Linked DNA regions of Homo sapiens: regions 1 and 3 are each linked to region 2. Evidence: promoter capture Hi-C in 16 types of primary human blood cells and fetal thymus (Javierre and others, 2016). All regions are on one chromosome and are shown on one strand. Each heading gives the region's core, a stretch centred on a gene start or on the middle of the fragment in contact. The rest is flanking DNA. Distances are from core to core; before and after follow the strand shown.

Region 1 (2,700 bases), core at 61-2,560, 220 kb after region 2:
GGTCCTCATCCTGTATCTGAGAATATCTGTTGCTGGATGTACAGTGCCTCTGTTCTTCTAAATCTTGAAACATCTGCTGTACTGGTATTTCTGAAGTCCACTTCTGTATCTACAAGCAAGAAGTGTTCACAGGGCCAGGCACGGTGTCTCACGCCAGTAATCCTAGCACTTTGGGAGGAGGATCACTTGAGGTCAGGAGTTGGAGACCAGCCTGGCCAACATGGTGAAACCCTGTCTCTACTAAAAATAAAAAATTAGCCAGGCGTGGTGGCACACGCCTGTAATCCCAGCTACTCGGGAGGCTGAGGCAGGAGAATTGCTTGAACCTGGGAGGTGGAGGTTGCAGTGAGCCGAGATCACACCACTGCACTCCAACCTGGGGGACAGAGCAAGACTCCATCTCAAAACCTTGTGGGGAACATGTATAGGTTTGCCCTGCAGTATCAGGTCAGTTCTCTGAGAGCTGATTTTATAGTTGAGCAACCTGCAGTTTCTTATTAATCCACAGTGACAATTGTTCCAAGGTTTTTACCTTACTACTTTTTATTGTGCAGTTACAATAAAGACCTTTTAGACAAGGTGATGGAAATGGCCGATGGGATTGAAGTGGAAGACCTGCCACAATTTACTACCAGAAGTGAATTAATGAAAAAGGTAAATAGGATTTCCAAGTGCATGTGATGAAATGGTGTAGAGTTAACAGTCCCTGCCTTGATGACACTATATTAGAGTATATTGTTTTTGAATGCTCTTTACTGCCCCAAAGACCTATACCCTTTCATTTTTATTTCCCCATAATTGGTATAAGCCTTTTCATAAATAGTTGACAACTCACTGTGGTAAATTATGCATTGTTGATGAGGTAACACATAAGCTTAACCTCTTCCGGTTGTTTAGGAACATTGTTTTGAGATTTTTGCTTGATGTTTAAAAAGATGTTGGCTAGAATACTTAAGTTTCCTACTTGTTAAAAAATCTCATTGGTAAGACTCATCCTTACCCCAGGTGTGAGTGCCGGTGTGAGTGCCGACCTGACTTGTTTGGCTTCTGTGATTTGCTGATAAGAACGTGCCTGGAGCAATGTCGATGGCATAGCTGTTCTCTACCCTTTGGGGTCTGATCTCAGGCGATGGGCTTTTTACAGTGAGTCTTGCCTAGAGTCTTGAATCTGGACACTGGAGCTGGGGCTACAGAATGTGGCAGAAAGAACCTCAGAATATGGAGCTGGGCATCCCAGCTATTAATACTTTTCAGAATCACCTCCAAAACATGCTTGTTTCACATTTGTCTGCTCAGGCAGCAGAATTAATTGCTCGCTTATCTTCTGAAGTTCCTTTGGCACTTTATCCAGGGCTCTTTTAAAGCAGTTGTGACCTTACAGATGGTGTCTAAAGTTCTATTTAGTCTTTACAACTCCCAAACCTAGTATACTTATACCCCAGAGAAGGTACTCAGAAAATACTTATAAAATCGACTGAAGCAGTAGAGTAAAAAGCTGCTGGCCCCTTTTTAGGTCTGCCCTTAGAAACATAGGTAAGCCCATTCCTCCACATTTAGGTCTTGTCTTGGGAGGTGGGGCACATATAGAGGTCCTCTTCCATATGGGTGTCAAGGAACTAATCAGATTCTCAGTTGCTCATAAAGTATTTCAGTCCCAAATAGTACACCCCACTTGATTTTCAGGATGGTTTGTTTTTCTTAAAAAAGTATTCTTTTAGTTTTAATCTGAACCTGGGGAAAAGCTTCAGGTTGGTTTTCGAGATGCTATTATGTTTTAAAATCAGCTGTTACCTCAACACAGTACTCCTGACAAAAAATCAGTAAGTAAAATCAGCTGTTTTTTTGTTTTTGTTTGTTTGTTTGTTTGTTTTTGAGAGGGAGTCTCCCTGTGTCGCCCAGGCTGGAGTGAGGTGGTGCGATCTGGGCTCACTGCAAGCTCTGCCTCCCAGGTTCACACCATTCTCCTGCCTCAGCCTCCTGAGTAGCTGGGACTACAGGCGCCTGCCACCACGCCCAGCCAATTTTTTTTTTTTTTTTTTTTTTGTATTTTTAGTAGAGACGGGGTTTCACCGTGTTAGCCAGGATGGTCTCGATCTCCTGACCTCGTGATCCGCCCGCCTCGGCCTCCCAAAGTGCTGGGATTACAGGTGTGAGCCACCGCACCAGGACTAAAATCAGCTGTTAAAAAGGGGCTACTGTTTTTAGCCAGGGAGCAGTGTGAATTGGGAGTGTGTGGCTTTTTGGATCTTCTCATGTAATACTTAAAAAAATACTGGGCAGTCCTTGGGTGTTCTATAGTAAGGTTCTTGGGGCCCAGCCAGGGAGGAGCTAGATAGTTTCTGGCTACTGGAGTATACCTTATGGGGCAGGGGCAGGGGCAGAGGTAGGCAGGGAATGAGGTGAGCCTTTATTTTTAATTTATTTTTTAGATAGAGGCTCACTTTGTCACCCAGGCTGGAGTGCAGTGGCACGATCTCAGCTCACTGCAACCTCTGCCTCCCAGGCTCAAGTGATTCTAGCGCCACAGCCTCCCCAGTAGCTGGGATTACAGCCGGGTGCCACCATACCCAGCTAATTTTTGTATTTTTAGTAGAGAAAGGGTTTTGCCATGTTGTCCAGGCTGGTCTTGAACTCCTGGCCTCAAGTGATCTGCCCAGCTTCCCAAAGTGCTAGGATTACAGGCGTGAGCCACTGCACCTG
Region 2 (2,700 bases), core at 176-2,675:
AGATTGAGGCTGCAGTGAGCTATGATAGCACCACTGGACTCCAGCCTGGGAGAAAGAGCAAGACCGTCTATATATATATATAATTTTTAAATTTATTTTTAATTTAATTAATTTATTTATTTTTTGAGACGGAGACAGAGTCTCGCTCTGTCGCCCAGGCTAGAGTGCAATGGTGCAATCTCGGCTCACTGCAACCTCCACCTCCCGGGTTCAAGCAATTCTCCTGCCTCGGCCTACCGAGTAGCTGGCGTTACAGGCACCTGCCATCATGCCTGGGTAATTTTCGTATTTTTGTAGAGATGGGGTTTCACCATGTTGGCCAGGCTGGTCTTGAACTCTAACCTCAGGTGATTCACCCACCTTGACCTCCCAAAGTGCTGAGATTACAGGTGTGAACCACCGCGCCTGGCCAAGACCGTCTATAAAACAACTGAATAACCAGCTGAATAAAAGCTGAATAACCAGCATCCAACACATTATCTGGTACGTAGCTACATTGTGTAAATCACTGGTGAATTCAATAAGCACAAATAACAAAAAAAGAAAAAAAAATGAATTCAATAAGCACGTGTACTTTGAAAATGTATTTTAGGCAGGGCGCGGTGGTGATCCCAGCACTTTGGGAGGCTGAGGCAGGTGGATCACTTATGCTAGGGAGTTTGAGACCAGCCTGGCCAACATGATGAAACCCGGTCTCTACTAAAAATACAAAAATTAGCCGGGCGCAGTGGCTCACGCCTGTAATCCTAGCACTTTGGGAGGCCGAGGCGGGCGGTTCACTTTAGGTCAAGAGTTCGAGACCAGCCTGGCCAACATGGTGAAACCCCGTCTCTACTAAAAATACAAAAATTAGCCGGGCATGGTGGTGCGCGCCTGTGCTCCCAGCTACTCAGGAGGCTGAGGTAGAAGAATCGCTTGAACCCGGGAGGCGGAGGTTACAGTGAGCTGAGATCGCGCCATTGCACTCCAGCCTGGGCGACAAAATCGAGGCTCCGTTTCAAAAAAAAAAAAAATTAGCCGGACAGTGGTGGCGGGTGCCTGTAGTCCCCGCTACTGGGGAGGCTGAGGTAGGAGAATCTCTTGAATCCAGGGGGTGGAGGCTGCAGTGAGCCGAGATCGTGCCACTGCACCCCAGCCTGGGAGACAGAGCGAGACAACGTCTCAAAAAAAAAAAATGCCAAAAGTAATTTCCCCTAGGGAGGCATGGGGTGTTCCTTTCTCGGCACGCAGGCCCCTAAAATCCCTTCGGGCGGGCGGGTGTGGGGAGACCAGGCGGCTGGGAGACCCAGGCGGTGTTAGGGGTTGCGAGCAGCCTCGCTCAACTGGGGAATTGGCGGCAAGACTGCCAGGAGGCGGAACCTAGGGCGCTCGGCGACGCGGTCCTGCGGACTGTCGCTAGTGAGGCACCCGCCGGCCCGGAAGGGGCTGATGCGAACTGGGGCCACGGCAGCCATCGCGCTTTGCAGTTCGGTCTCCTGGTGTACGGCCAACGCCAAGTAGGGGATTGCGTTCCCTCCAGTCGCAGGTGAGTGACAGCCCCTCCTTCTGGGAGGACCGGTGGGCAGCAGCTATGGATCCCCTAGAAGGCGCACTTTTAGGGCCAAGACCTACTCTGAGTCCCTGCCTGTGGCACTGCGTGAAGGGGCGCCTGTTTTTCACCCCGGGGTTAGGCGGCGCGAGGGAGGACAGGTCTCATCCATGCTCCGCGGGGCCGTCTGATAGCCCTCGAGGCAGAACACTGCTGCTGTCAGACGCTTGGTCTTTTCAGGAAAGAACGAGGTGGCTGCAGGCAAGCCCCTTCCTTCCCCTGGGCCTCAGTTTCCTTACCTGGTAAGGTGAAGGTGGCGGGTCTCACTGACAGCTGAAGAGGCTGTGACACGGCCTGGTGTTTTCAGCGCTCCCAATTAGTGTAGAGGCAAATTGAGCTTCCTTACTAGTACTGGTTAACGTTTTCCGTAGCCCAAAGTCCCAGTTAAGTGGAAAAAAGATACACTGTTGAGAAAACTGTACTGATTTTTGTTTTAATTTTTTAAATTTTTGTTGTTGTTTTGAGACAGAGTTTCCCTCTTGTCGCCCAGGCTGGAGTGAAGTGGCACGATCTCGGCTTACTGCAAGCTCCGCCTCCCGGGTTCACGCCATTCTCCTGCCTCAGCCTCCCGAGTAGCTGGGACTACAGGTGCCCGCCACCACGCACCGCTAATTTTTTTGTATTTTTTAGTAGAGATGGGGTTTCACCGTGTTAGCCAGGATGGTCTCTTATCTCCTGACCTCGTGATCCGCCTGCCTCGGCCTCCCAAAGTGCTGGGATTATAGGCGTGAGCCACCGCATCCGGTCTAACTTTTCTATTTTTAGTAGAGATGGGATTTCTCTATGTTGGCCAGTCTGGTCTCCAACTCCTGACCTCAGGTGATCTGCTCGCCTCGGCCTCCCAAAGTGCTGGGATTAAAGGCATGAGCCACCTCAGTGGGCCACTGTACTGATTTTTAAGGTGTTGAAGCTTTTCCAAGAAGATTTGTTTTAAAACAGCTAAAACTTTGACATTGTTAGCTGAAAGAACCAAATTCGTCAGCAATTTAAGGTGTTTGGTACAGTGGACAAAATGAGGTGAAGAAGTCCTTTTAACTTGAAAAATTAAACATAGTATTATTTATTTGTGTGTTCTTACATCAGCCTCTATATTACTAAGTGTCTTTGAAGAC
Region 3 (2,700 bases), core at 89-2,588, 240 kb after region 2:
GATATGAGAAGAAACTCTTGGGGTTACTAAAATAGCTGTTTTAACTACTAGAGAGACTACACAGGTGGTTCAACAGAATTTACTTGTATATTTTCCATTTTCTATACTATTTGAAGGCATAGGATAGTTTTGTATTAGCTTTCTACAATACTGTGTTTTAAATTTATCCAGTAAACTAAGATGCAGTACAACTTTTATACAACTCAGGAGATTAAAAAAAAAATCTCCACAAGAAGAAGCAACTCAGCAGGCCCTGGCATTAAAACATTTCCCAGAATAAACAGATATGCATTGCATTAAAGGTAATTTTCAAATATTTAAGTTACACCAAGATTTCCCTCCAATATGTGCCTTTCTCAAACCAATGCAACTAATTCATTGCTAATACTGGGGCATGAATTTTTGGCAAATGTTTATGGTTTTACTTTCTTCATTAATCAAAAAATTTTTTAAAGTGCTACCAAGCAGCAAAACAAGTCGCATCAGTTCTCTGCTCATGGCAGAAGTGCCAACTGTGAAATCGCAAAAGGTACAGTTTTAACAGTAAGTAATGCATGAAGAAACTGTAACAAATGGCCTAAATACAGAGTTGGACAGAGTCAAACCAGTTATGTCTAGAATTACTCAATTGAAACTAATAGAGGTACATTCAAAATAAAGTTGGAGATTATAATCGCTATTTAGAATCAAATTTGAAGACTTCCTTGATAAAATATAAGAATGTTCTTTTGAAATTGTAAATGAAACTATCAATAGATGGAGAGCTAGAGACTTATTAACCCCTCCTACACACATAAGGAAATAAGTGACAAAGTCTCTTGCACTGAAGTTATGTATTTTAACAGCTTTACATGTAATATTCATATATAAAAAACTTTAAGTGCTTTTCTCCAATTTAAAAATCTAAAGAATTCAAAAATAAGGCATTCAATATTTGAAAAAAGTACAGATTTACAAAATGTGTATATTCTGTCATGAAAACTCCACACCAACATTATACACTTGGAAAAAAATACAAACAGGATATATTACAAATTTATGCAGCAATAACTTAGTTCACACCATGCAATAAAAAGTACATTAATCAAGATACACAAGCTTTTGTAGGTTCTAAACTGAAGGACTTTTTTCTTTTTTTTCTGCAGAATCCTTAAAACCTGTGGCACTTAAAATTTGTTAGCCTTTCTAATGAGAGGTAAATTATACACAACAATGATGAAAAAGATTAACAGACCAGTTGTCTATTATGAATCATTCCAGCTTTGTTCAACAATGGCCGAAACTCTTTTCTCATATTCTCGTTTGTTTTCCTGATAAAGCTGTGCTGCCTGGCTATTGGCTGGACTGTTAGGATTCGGTTCATCCAGCAGAGACTAGGAGGAAAGAAAAGAAAAAACAGATTTGCATAGTTGTTCTTTATACCAACAGGGGTCAGATATGGAATATATTACAGAAAAGTTATACAAAACAACAAATTACTTCAGAGATTAACATGTCATATAATTTTGGGTCTAAATACTTTTAGAAATGATTTGATAAATACTATGGGGTTTCCTGCTGCTAAGGAACTTAAGCTTCTGAAATAAAGTTCTCAATTGCCTTAAGACCTATAATTTCAGCTGGGTACAGTGGCTTGTGCCTGTAATCCTAACACTTTGGGAGGCCAAGGCAGGAGGATCCCTTGAGCCCAGCAGTTCAAGCCCAGCCTGGGCAACATAGGGAGACCCTGTTTCTATTAAAAAAGAAAAAGAGGTCGGGTGTGGTGGCTCACGCCTGTAATCCCAGCACTGTGGGAGGCCGAGGCGGGCAGATCACCTGAGGTAGGGAGTTCGAGACCAGCCTGACCAACATGGAGAAAACCCCGTAATTTCTAAAAATACAAAATTAGCCGGGTGTGGTGGCGCATGCCCGTAATCCGCTACTCGGAAGGCTGAGGCAGGAGAATTGCTTGAACCCGGGAGGCAGAGGTTGCAGTGAGCTGAGATCGCGCCACTGTACTCCAGCCTGGGCAACAAGGGTGAAATTCCGTCTCAAAAAAAAAAAAAAGAAAAAAGAAAAGAAAAAAATACCTATAATTTGAAAGAAATCAGAAAAGAATATTCTTAAGCATATTGAGACGTTCTCATTAAACCAAGGAAATAAACAGCTTAATTTGGTTAAGATATCAATAATTCTCAGTAACCAACATTTTCCAAGGTTAAACTCTATTACTGCAGTTACTTTGCAAATGTCTTGACAGTAAATTTGGGAGATAAGTCTTATTTCCTTTAATCAACAAAACATATACATTTAGCAGGAAGAGAATGAGATAGGAAGGTTGAAAAACAACGCTTGTAAGATGACCAGAACTGGCCTGGTGCAGTAGCTCACGCCTGTAATCCCAACACTTTCGGAGGCTCAGACGGGCGGATCATGAGGTCAGATGGAGACCATCCTGGCTAACACTGTGAAACCCCATCTCTACTAAAAATACAAAAACTTAGCCAGGCGTGGTAGCATGTGCCTATAGTCCTAGCTACTCAGGAGGCTGAGGCAGGATAATCACTTGAACCCGGGAGGCAGAGGTTGCGGTGAGCCAAGATTGTGCCATTGCACTCCAGTCTGGGCAACAGAGCAAGACACTGTCTCAAAAAAAAAAAAAAAAAAAAAAACAATTAAAGAAGTGTGAGAGAAAAAACTTTAAAAAGAACATCACAAACC

What was found. The method cuts DNA at HindIII sites, captures the fragments that hold promoters and counts their contacts. A CHiCAGO score of 5 or more calls a contact.
Region 1: a contact is called between a fragment that was not itself captured here and the fragment with the promoter of SAR1B in region 2, in 5 of 17 cell types (total CD8 T cells, activated CD4 T cells, naive CD8 T cells and 2 more). The highest score is 7.8, in total CD8 T cells.
Region 3: a fragment that was not itself captured here is called in contact with the fragment with the promoter of SAR1B in region 2 in 4 of 17 cell types (activated CD4 T cells, megakaryocytes, M0 macrophages and 1 more); the score reaches 5.4 in activated CD4 T cells.

Annotation. Positions count from the first base shown.
Region 1 is chr5:134,407,857-134,410,556 of GRCh38, reverse strand. It overlaps CDKN2AIPNL (CDKN2A interacting protein N-terminal like), which reads left to right. Exons shown (of 3, transcript NM_080656.3): 2 at 555-654. Among named protein-coding and RNA genes, the nearest start is that of CDKN2AIPNL, 2.7 kb to the left of the region's middle. The HindIII fragment of the contact is 868 bases long and covers 877-1,744 here.
Region 2 is chr5:134,631,553-134,634,252 of GRCh38, reverse strand. SAR1B (secretion associated Ras related GTPase 1B) reads left to right here and starts at 1,425. Exons shown (of 7, transcript NM_016103.4): 1 at 1,425-1,525. RefSeq lists an enhancer at 974-1,530 and silencers at 1,504-1,553, 1,604-1,713. The HindIII fragment of the contact is 3,405 bases long and covers 1-2,500 here.
Region 3 is chr5:134,388,898-134,391,597 of GRCh38, reverse strand. UBE2B (ubiquitin conjugating enzyme E2 B) reads right to left here. Exons shown (of 6, transcript NM_003337.4): 6 at 1-1,373. The coding sequence ends at 1,245. Among named protein-coding and RNA genes, the nearest start is that of UBE2B, 19 kb to the right of the region's middle. The HindIII fragment of the contact is 476 bases long and covers 1,101-1,576 here.